Linked DNA regions of Homo sapiens: region 1 is linked to region 2. The links are contacts of gene promoters, found by promoter capture Hi-C in blood cells and fetal thymus (Javierre and others, 2016). All regions are on one chromosome and are shown on one strand. The core of a region is centred on a gene start or on the middle of the fragment in contact, and the rest is flanking DNA. Distances in the headings are between cores, read along the strand shown.

What was found. Contacts are between HindIII fragments. The CHiCAGO score rates a contact against its expected background, and 5 or more counts as called.
Region 1: a contact is called between a fragment that was not itself captured here and the fragment with the promoter of IFITM10 in region 2, in 1 of 17 cell types (neutrophils). The highest score is 5.8, in neutrophils.

Annotation. Positions count from the first base shown.
Region 1 is chr11:2,002,863-2,006,678 of GRCh38, forward strand. It overlaps a transcript of MRPL23 not described here. Among named protein-coding and RNA genes, the nearest start is that of H19, 6.9 kb to the left of the region's middle. The HindIII fragment of the contact is 6,201 bases long and covers 1-3,816 here.
Region 2 is chr11:1,748,898-1,752,654 of GRCh38, forward strand. It overlaps IFITM10 (interferon induced transmembrane protein 10), which reads right to left and starts at 1,698. Exons shown (of 3, transcript NM_001170820.4): 1 at 1,462-1,698. The coding sequence starts at 1,545. RefSeq lists enhancers at 1-753, 754-1,509. The HindIII fragment of the contact is 9,148 bases long and covers 1-3,757 here.

The sequences.
Region 1 (3,816 bases), core at 938-3,437, 250 kb after region 2:
TGGGGTGAATCAAACACATAGCCCGATGTTAGTCGCATGAGTGTCTATCTCTGACAACCCTCGGGAACCAATGCGGCACCTGGCCTGGGAGACCTGGGACGTTTCTGTGGGTGAACCCCAGCCAGGCGTGCTCGGGCTGTGATGTGTGAGCCTGCACTGCCGCCGCGCGGCCACTTCTGATTCCACACGTACAGCCGATTCTGCGCCATCAGGGCAGTGAGACGGGCCTCCCTTGGTGAGGTCAGCAAGATGGGCCGCCCTCGGTGAGGCTGGCATCCAAGACTGAATGGGAAGCCTCCAGAAATACCTGTGCGCTGTGCTTGGCAGGCTCCCACGATCCCTGTTCCTGCTGGAGGCCCTGTTGGGAGGGTCTCCCTCTGGACCTTGGGCTCAAGTTCTTTGGGGTCCAAGTCATGACCACTGCAGAACAGAGATTTCTCTTTGCCTCCAAGTATCCACTGTCCTACGTGCTATGGGAGCTGTCATCGGTGGTGTCCCTGGGATTAGGCTCCCAGCCATGCATGGGCTCCTAGACAGCCCCAGGGTTCTCCCATTGGGAAATGCCGCTCTACTACACATCAGCCACAGCGCATTAATGCTTGGTTCTCCTGGTGAAACCGCCTCTGCAAAAATTATTACAGAAAATCGGCCGGCGGTGGTGGCTCATGCCTGTAATCCCAGCAGTTTGGGAGGCCGAGGTGGGTGGATCACCTGAGGTCAGGAGTTCAAGACCAACCTGGCCAACCTGACGAAATCCCATCTCTACTAAAAATACAAAAATTAGCTGGGCATGGTGGTGGGCGCCTGTAATCCCAGCTACTTGGGAGGCTGAGGCAGGAGAATCACTGGAACTCCGGAGGTGGAGGTTGCAGTGAGCCAAGATCGAGCCATTGGACTCCAGCCTGGATGATAAGAGCGAAACTCTGTCTCAAAAAAAAAAAAATATATAACAGAAAATTATGACAATGAAAGAGATCTGACGTAACCAACTCTGTCTTGCCTTCTTATTCATTTCTGGGTGCAGGCTGGACTAACTTTGGGAAGAACTTAGTTTATAGTTTATCTTTGAAACAAAGACAATAACAGCCCTTTCCCAGGACAGACCCTCTTCCTGCCTGGGGACTAGACTTTCAGGACTAACAAATTAGCCACAGATTAGAAATTATGGTTTAGGAGTCATGGAGTCACACATCTGGAGGCTGAAAGATTTTTAACCTCCTCAAATTGCTCCTAGGATTACATCACTGTTGCAGAACCTAAGATCAGTGGTTGAGATATTTCGCAGACCCTGTACTGGGTGGATCAGCTGGCACCCCCCAGATTGATAAACTGGCTCATCTAGTCTTGTGGCCCCCACCCAGGAACTGACTCAGCAGAAAAAGATGGCTTTGACTCTCCATGATTTCATCTCTGACCCAACCAATCAGCACTCCCTATTGACTCGCCCCCTACCCACCAAATGATCCTTAAAAACTTTGATCCCCAAATTTCCTGGGAGACTGATTTGAGTAATAATAAAACTCTGGTCTCCTGCACGGCCGACTCTGTGTGAATTAAACTTTATTGCAAGTCACCTGTTGTGATAAAGCAGCTCTGTCCAGACCGGCGGCAGGGAGAACCTGTTGGGCGGTTAGACGGGTTCAGACACTACTCTCCTGGGGGTGATGGACATCTCTTCTGTTCACTGATTCCCGGAGGAAGATTTGGGAGATTTTGCCTGGGAGCAGGCAAACACCTCGGGCTATTTGCTTTCTAATGGGGCATTTGCATGTGTATAGGACAGACCGGGAGCTGCCCAGTTTCTGCTTCCAGGCGCACCTGCTAAGAGTAGTCTTGCCAGTGAAGCGACTGCTGGGGTACAGCAGCACAGCACAGGGGACCTAGTTTTTTTTTGTTTGTTTTTTTGTTTTTTGAGTCTCGCTCTGTCCCCTAGGCTGGAGTGCAGTGGCATGATCTCGGCTCACTGCAGGCTCCGCCTCCCGGGTTCACACCATTCTCCTGCCTCAGCCTCCCAAGTAGGTGGGACTACAGGCGCCCACCACCTCACCCGGCTAATTTTTTGTATTTTTAGTAGAGATGGGGTTTCACCGTGTTAGCCAGGTTGGTCTCGATCTCCTCATCTTGTGATCCGCCCGCCTCAGCCTCCCAAAGTGCTGGGATTACAGGCGTGAGCCACCGCACCCAGCAGGGGACCTAGTTTTGAGGACTACTGGGGTCGGGTCTGGTCTGTGCTGGCCACGGTAATGGTGAGTGCCTGGGTGCTATGATCCACACACAGGGTGGCACCAACATGAAAGTGGCCAGAGCCCCAGCCAAGGTGCCCAGAGCACTTGGGTGGGGATGTGGGCACAGCGCTGTCACCTGGAGGCAGATGTGGGCACAGTGATGTCACATGGACAGGTATATAACCACAGTGATGTCACCAAGACAGGACGTGGGCACAGTGCTGTCACCGGGATAAAGATGTGGGCACGGTGCTGTCATCTAGATAGACACATGAGCACTGTGTGTCACCTGGATAGGGATATGGCACAGTGTCACCCGGATAGGGACATGGCACAGCGTGTCACCTGGATAGGGACACAGGTATAGCGTGTCACCTGGGTGGGACATGGGCATAGCACATCACCTGGGTGGGACACGGGTACGGCACGTCACCTGGATAGGGACACGGGTACGGCACGTCACCCGGGTGGGACACGGGTACGGCACGTCACCCGGGTGGGACACGGGTACGGCACGTCACCCGGGTGGGACACGGGTACGGCACGTCACCCGGGTGGGACACGGGTACGGCACGTCACCCGGGTGGGACACGGGTACGGCACGTCACCCGGGTGGGACACGGGTACGGCACGTCACCCGGGTGGGACACGGGTACGGCACGTCACCTGGATAGGGACACGGGTACGGCACATCATGCGGGTGGGACATGAGTACAGCGTGTCATTAGATAGAGGGGCTTTCTCTTCTCTCTCCCCTGTGGCTGGGACCTACCCAGATATAAGTAATGGGATAGCCCACTTGGGCTTTGCCAGTTCCCTGAGGCTGCCATAAGGAAGCCCCAGAAACTGGGCTGATTGGAACAACCACGTGGAATGCGTCTCTCCCTGTTTCGATGCTAGAAGGTCAGAGTCGGGGTGGTCAGGGCTGGCTCCTTCTTCGAGCTCTAAGGGAGGCTCCAGTGCTGGCCGACTTTCCCAGTGTTCCCAGGCTCCCAGACCTGTCACCCCAGCCGTGCCCATCTTCCAGGATGCTCTCATCCTGCGCCTTCACGCAGCGTTGCTCTCTCGTGCCTCTCCTCTACCTGTGAGGACACCATGATGTTTGATTCAGGGCCTGCCCTACTGCAGTCTGACCTGATCGATTGCGTCTATAATGACCCTATTTCCAAATGAGTTCGTGCTCTGAGATGCTGGTGGTCAGGGCTTCAACTTGTCTTTTCTGGAGAGGCACTAAACAGACTCCATGAGGAACTGAGGAGTCCAGAGCAGTGAGATGGAAGGAGGCTGGGCCCTGACCCTGGGAGCTGGCGATCTTCACACTCATGACCCTCTCATGTCTCTCTCCGTGACAGAGAAAAGCCAGCTCTGGGCCCATTCAGGATCGTCCTGGGGTTTCCTGGCTGTGGCAGCTGTACCTCCCTCTCACCTGTGCCCACCACTCCAGAGCCGGTGTGTGGGCTCACGCTGGTGGCTGAGTCCTGACCGTGGGGTAACCAAGGGGGAGGCATGAAGATGAGGTCCCGAGAGGAGACACAGGACCGTTCTCCTGATGTGAGCAGGGGTGAGCACAGTCTCATAGGACTGTGTCCTT
Region 2 (3,757 bases), core at 448-2,947:
GCGCCACCCCGCGTTCCCAGCTCCCGTGCGGCGCTCGCCGGGGGGTCTGCGGCCGAGGCTCTGCAGCCCCCAGCCCCATCCGGGTCTGCCGCAGCCCCCCGGACGGCGCCTCCTCACCTACAAGCGACTCCTCGGCGCGCGGCCGGACCCCCTGAGCCTCGGTGCGCGCGTCCTTCCGCCGTCCCGCGGGCCGCTGTCTGTCCACTGATCCGCCTCCCAGCGGCCCAACCTTGAGGGGGTGGGGAGCGCGCGGGGCTCGGCGGCGGCGCCGCTGCCTCCCCCGCCGCCTGCGCTCCCTCCGCAGCGCCAGACCGGCCGCGCGGCTGCAGCCCAGAGCCTGACTCACGGCGGCAGCGGGCACAGCCACCTCCCCGCCTCCGCCTCCTCCTGCCAGGAGGGTGGGGGCCTCGGAAGCCGCGACCCTGGGGAGTTGCAAGGTCCCGCAGGGATGGGACCCCTACAGCCCCCGACCAGGGTGTCCGCGCCACCTCCATCTCCCCGGACCCACTGCGTCTTCCTCCCCACCCCACCCGGCCCCATCCCTCTCGCGGAGCCCCCAGCCCCGTGGAAGACTGGACGCTCCCGGAACCCTCCCCATCTGCCTCCCCAAGAGAGACCCTCTTCCTCTTCCCACTCTCCCCATGGCGCTCCACCCCAGCGCCTGGGCCCTGCTGCCTCCAGGGACCCCCGCCCCTGGGTCCTGCCCTTCTGGCCTGTTGACTCTCAGTTCCAGCAGCTCAGTCCCCTCCTGACGAAGCTCCAGTCCCCTGAGCCCCAGCAGGCCCCCTACCTGACTGCCCGTCTCTGCCCCATCCTGTCCCTAACCAAGTCCACAAGGCCCCCAAGACCACCCTCCAGTCCCTTCCCTCCTTAGCCCACCAAGTCCAGGCCTTCCGGTAAGTTTCAGCACCCCCTACTCTGTTCCTTCCTGGCTGAGCCCACTCCTGCCCATCGGAGCTCCTGCCCCCTTTCCTGGAGTCTGACTTCACCCAGCCGGGGCCCCACTCCAGTTCACTCCCAGAGTCTGGGAGAATGTGGCCTCTCCTGCGCAGACCCCAGGTCATGCTCCATCTGCTCGCAGGGCAAAGTGTCCCGTTCCGAGCTCTGGTCCTGTGCTGAGGTCCTGGCTGCTAAGGACACTTGTCTCCCTGGAGGCTGGTTTACTCACCTGCCCACAGCCTCTCTGTGATCCCTACCAGCCCTTCTGAGCCTGGTCCCCTGAGGATACTTTGTTCCCTGTGAATCATTTTTCCTGACCAATGCCTGTCCTCCCAGCCTCAGCCGCCTCCGCTACCCCACCACATCCTCACTCTCACGGTATGCTTGACGCCAGCTGATCTTCCATCCCCATAACAGTCCCCATGAGTTCCTCCCCATGGAGAAAACTCCAGCCTTCCCTCCCTCCCTCCAAGTCCCCCACTTCACCACGCAGGTTCCCTGAGCTGGGTCCTCTTCACCAACCTCCAGCTCCCACTGAGCCTCGACCCTCTCCAAAGTCCCCCGGAAGCTGAGGATGCATGGCGGCCCCCGTTTTCCCTCCCTCATCTCTCTCCAAGCCCCATCCTCCCATGAAACTCCTTTCTCCTCTGCCACTCTCAACTGGCCTCCTGTGTCTCCGCAACCCTCTTTCCTGTCTGGAAGGCCAGTCCTGCTTGGGGTCCTGTCTGCCTGCCTGTGCCTGACTCTGAACCCTTTCTCTCCCCAAACCTCTGTTCTGAACCCTAATCCCCTGGAAAAGCCCAGCCCTCTGCAAGCCCCTCCTCTTTCCAGCCTAGTCCCCGCCCCTCATGCCTGGGCTGACCCGGGCACAGTGTTATCCACAGCACGCCAGGAACCCACAGCACAAGGCTGATCTTAAATGATGTTGATAAACCCTAACGAGCAGGAGGGGTCATGAAGCATGAGGAGCCTCCTCCTCGTCTCCTTGGGCACCCTGGCCATGCTCTCCCTGGAGCCCACAGGCCGTGGGTGGATGGGGCCTGTCGGAGAACCAGGGTTCCGTTCTCCCTCCCCAACTCCCTCCTCCTTTCCAAGGGCCTGGCCCAGGGAAAACTGGACCCGGTGTCCTCAGACGGGGCCTGATCCCAGGCTGAGTGTGGCCTGTGTGCCATGCCCCCATGTCTCCCCAGCATCTGAGCTGGGCTTACCCGGCCAGCCACCACCTTCTGGGAGACCCTGGCCTGCCACACAGCCTCTGCCCAGTGCTGCCCCACCCCAGTTTGCCCTGAAGGCCTCAGGCAGTGAGGAGGCCTCCATAGCAGGAGAGGGTTGCCTGGGCCCGAGGGTCCAGGGCCTGCCCAGGGTCACTGGGTAGGTGACAGGGGAGCCAGGGCCTGCTCCCGGCCTCAGGCCACCTTGGGGCTGCCTCTGAGGCCAGGAAACACCACTGAGAGGGAGCCAGGGGTCGCAGGGCAGAGCCAGGGCCGAGCCAAACTTGGCACAGCCAGCATTCATGTGACTGTTGGTGGGCTCCCCAAGGGCCTGGGCTCCAGCTTCCCCTTTGCTAGGGGTTTCTGGTTACAACCCACAGTCTAGACAGGGGGGGACTCCAGGCTCAGGGTCCAGTCACCAGCTAGAAAACCACGGAGGAACCCGGGGTCAGACTCCAGGGCCCCGAGAATCCTGCCGGGCTGGAGGGAGCCCTCGGAGCAACCCCAGGGCAGCAGCCATGAAGATGGGAGCTGGACGGAGCTGACAAGCTGCAGAAGGAGGGAGATGGGGAGAGTGGGACAGGGCAGGGACAACAGGGTATGGCTGCCTCCTTGTACCTCTCTGCCCTCCCAGGCCTCAGTGCACAAAGCATCTGATGACAGGACATTTGTCTCCCCAGAAGCCCTGCCAGGCCCTGCAGAGTTCTGCCCAGCTCTGCTCAGATTTCAGGCATGCCAAACGCCAGGCATGTGTTTCCAAGCCTCCGTGCCACCCTGGGTAAATGTTCTTGCTCCAGGTGTCTGCCGTAGCATGGCTCTGGGGTGAAAGCCCTGCAGCCCCTTGGGAGGAAGGCCAAGGCAGCCACCACCCTCAGGCAGAGGCATCAAGATAATGGCAAATGTCACATCTGCCTCATCTTCTAACCTGTTGGGGTGGGGCTCGAGGGGGCTCTAAGTGACTCCAGAGCTACTGATCCCAAAAGGAACTCTGCTCCCACCACCACATGCCCACAAACTCCTACTTACCTATTAGAACCCCAGGGGCTGCTACCACTGCATCCGGGCACACGCTCCCAACCCCTCCCCTCCCAGCGGAACAAGCGCACCGCGTTATCAGCCCGGGGATCCGTGACTGTGGCAGCTGTGGCTGGAGGGGACTTCTGAGTCCAATCCCTGCAACCAGGGACCCTGGGCAGGCTTGCTTGGTGCCAGCTCAGCTCACTGCACACAAAACCGCTTCTAGGGCCTGGGAGGCAAGAAGGCCCAGCTAGGCCAGCCCCCCCACGCCACCTGGGGCCATTTATTTCCCGGGACAAGAGGGCTGAGGAGGGTGACTGGTAGGCCTGCTCTGAGGGTCCCCGAGAGCAGAAATAGCCTCTGTTCGAGTGCCGTGGCTGCCTGGCTGGGCCACCTCCCTGAAATCACTCCTCAAGGCTGGCACTCACACTAGACACCCTGAAACCCCAGCCAAGGCCACATCCTGCCGGCTACTGCTCCAGACCTGGGAACAAGTCAGTCCCCGCTGGCCGACCAGGCTGGAGCCCATGGGCTGGGCAGGGCAGGGCAGGGGGCCATAGGCCCGGGGCACCCCAAATGCTTGTCCCGGT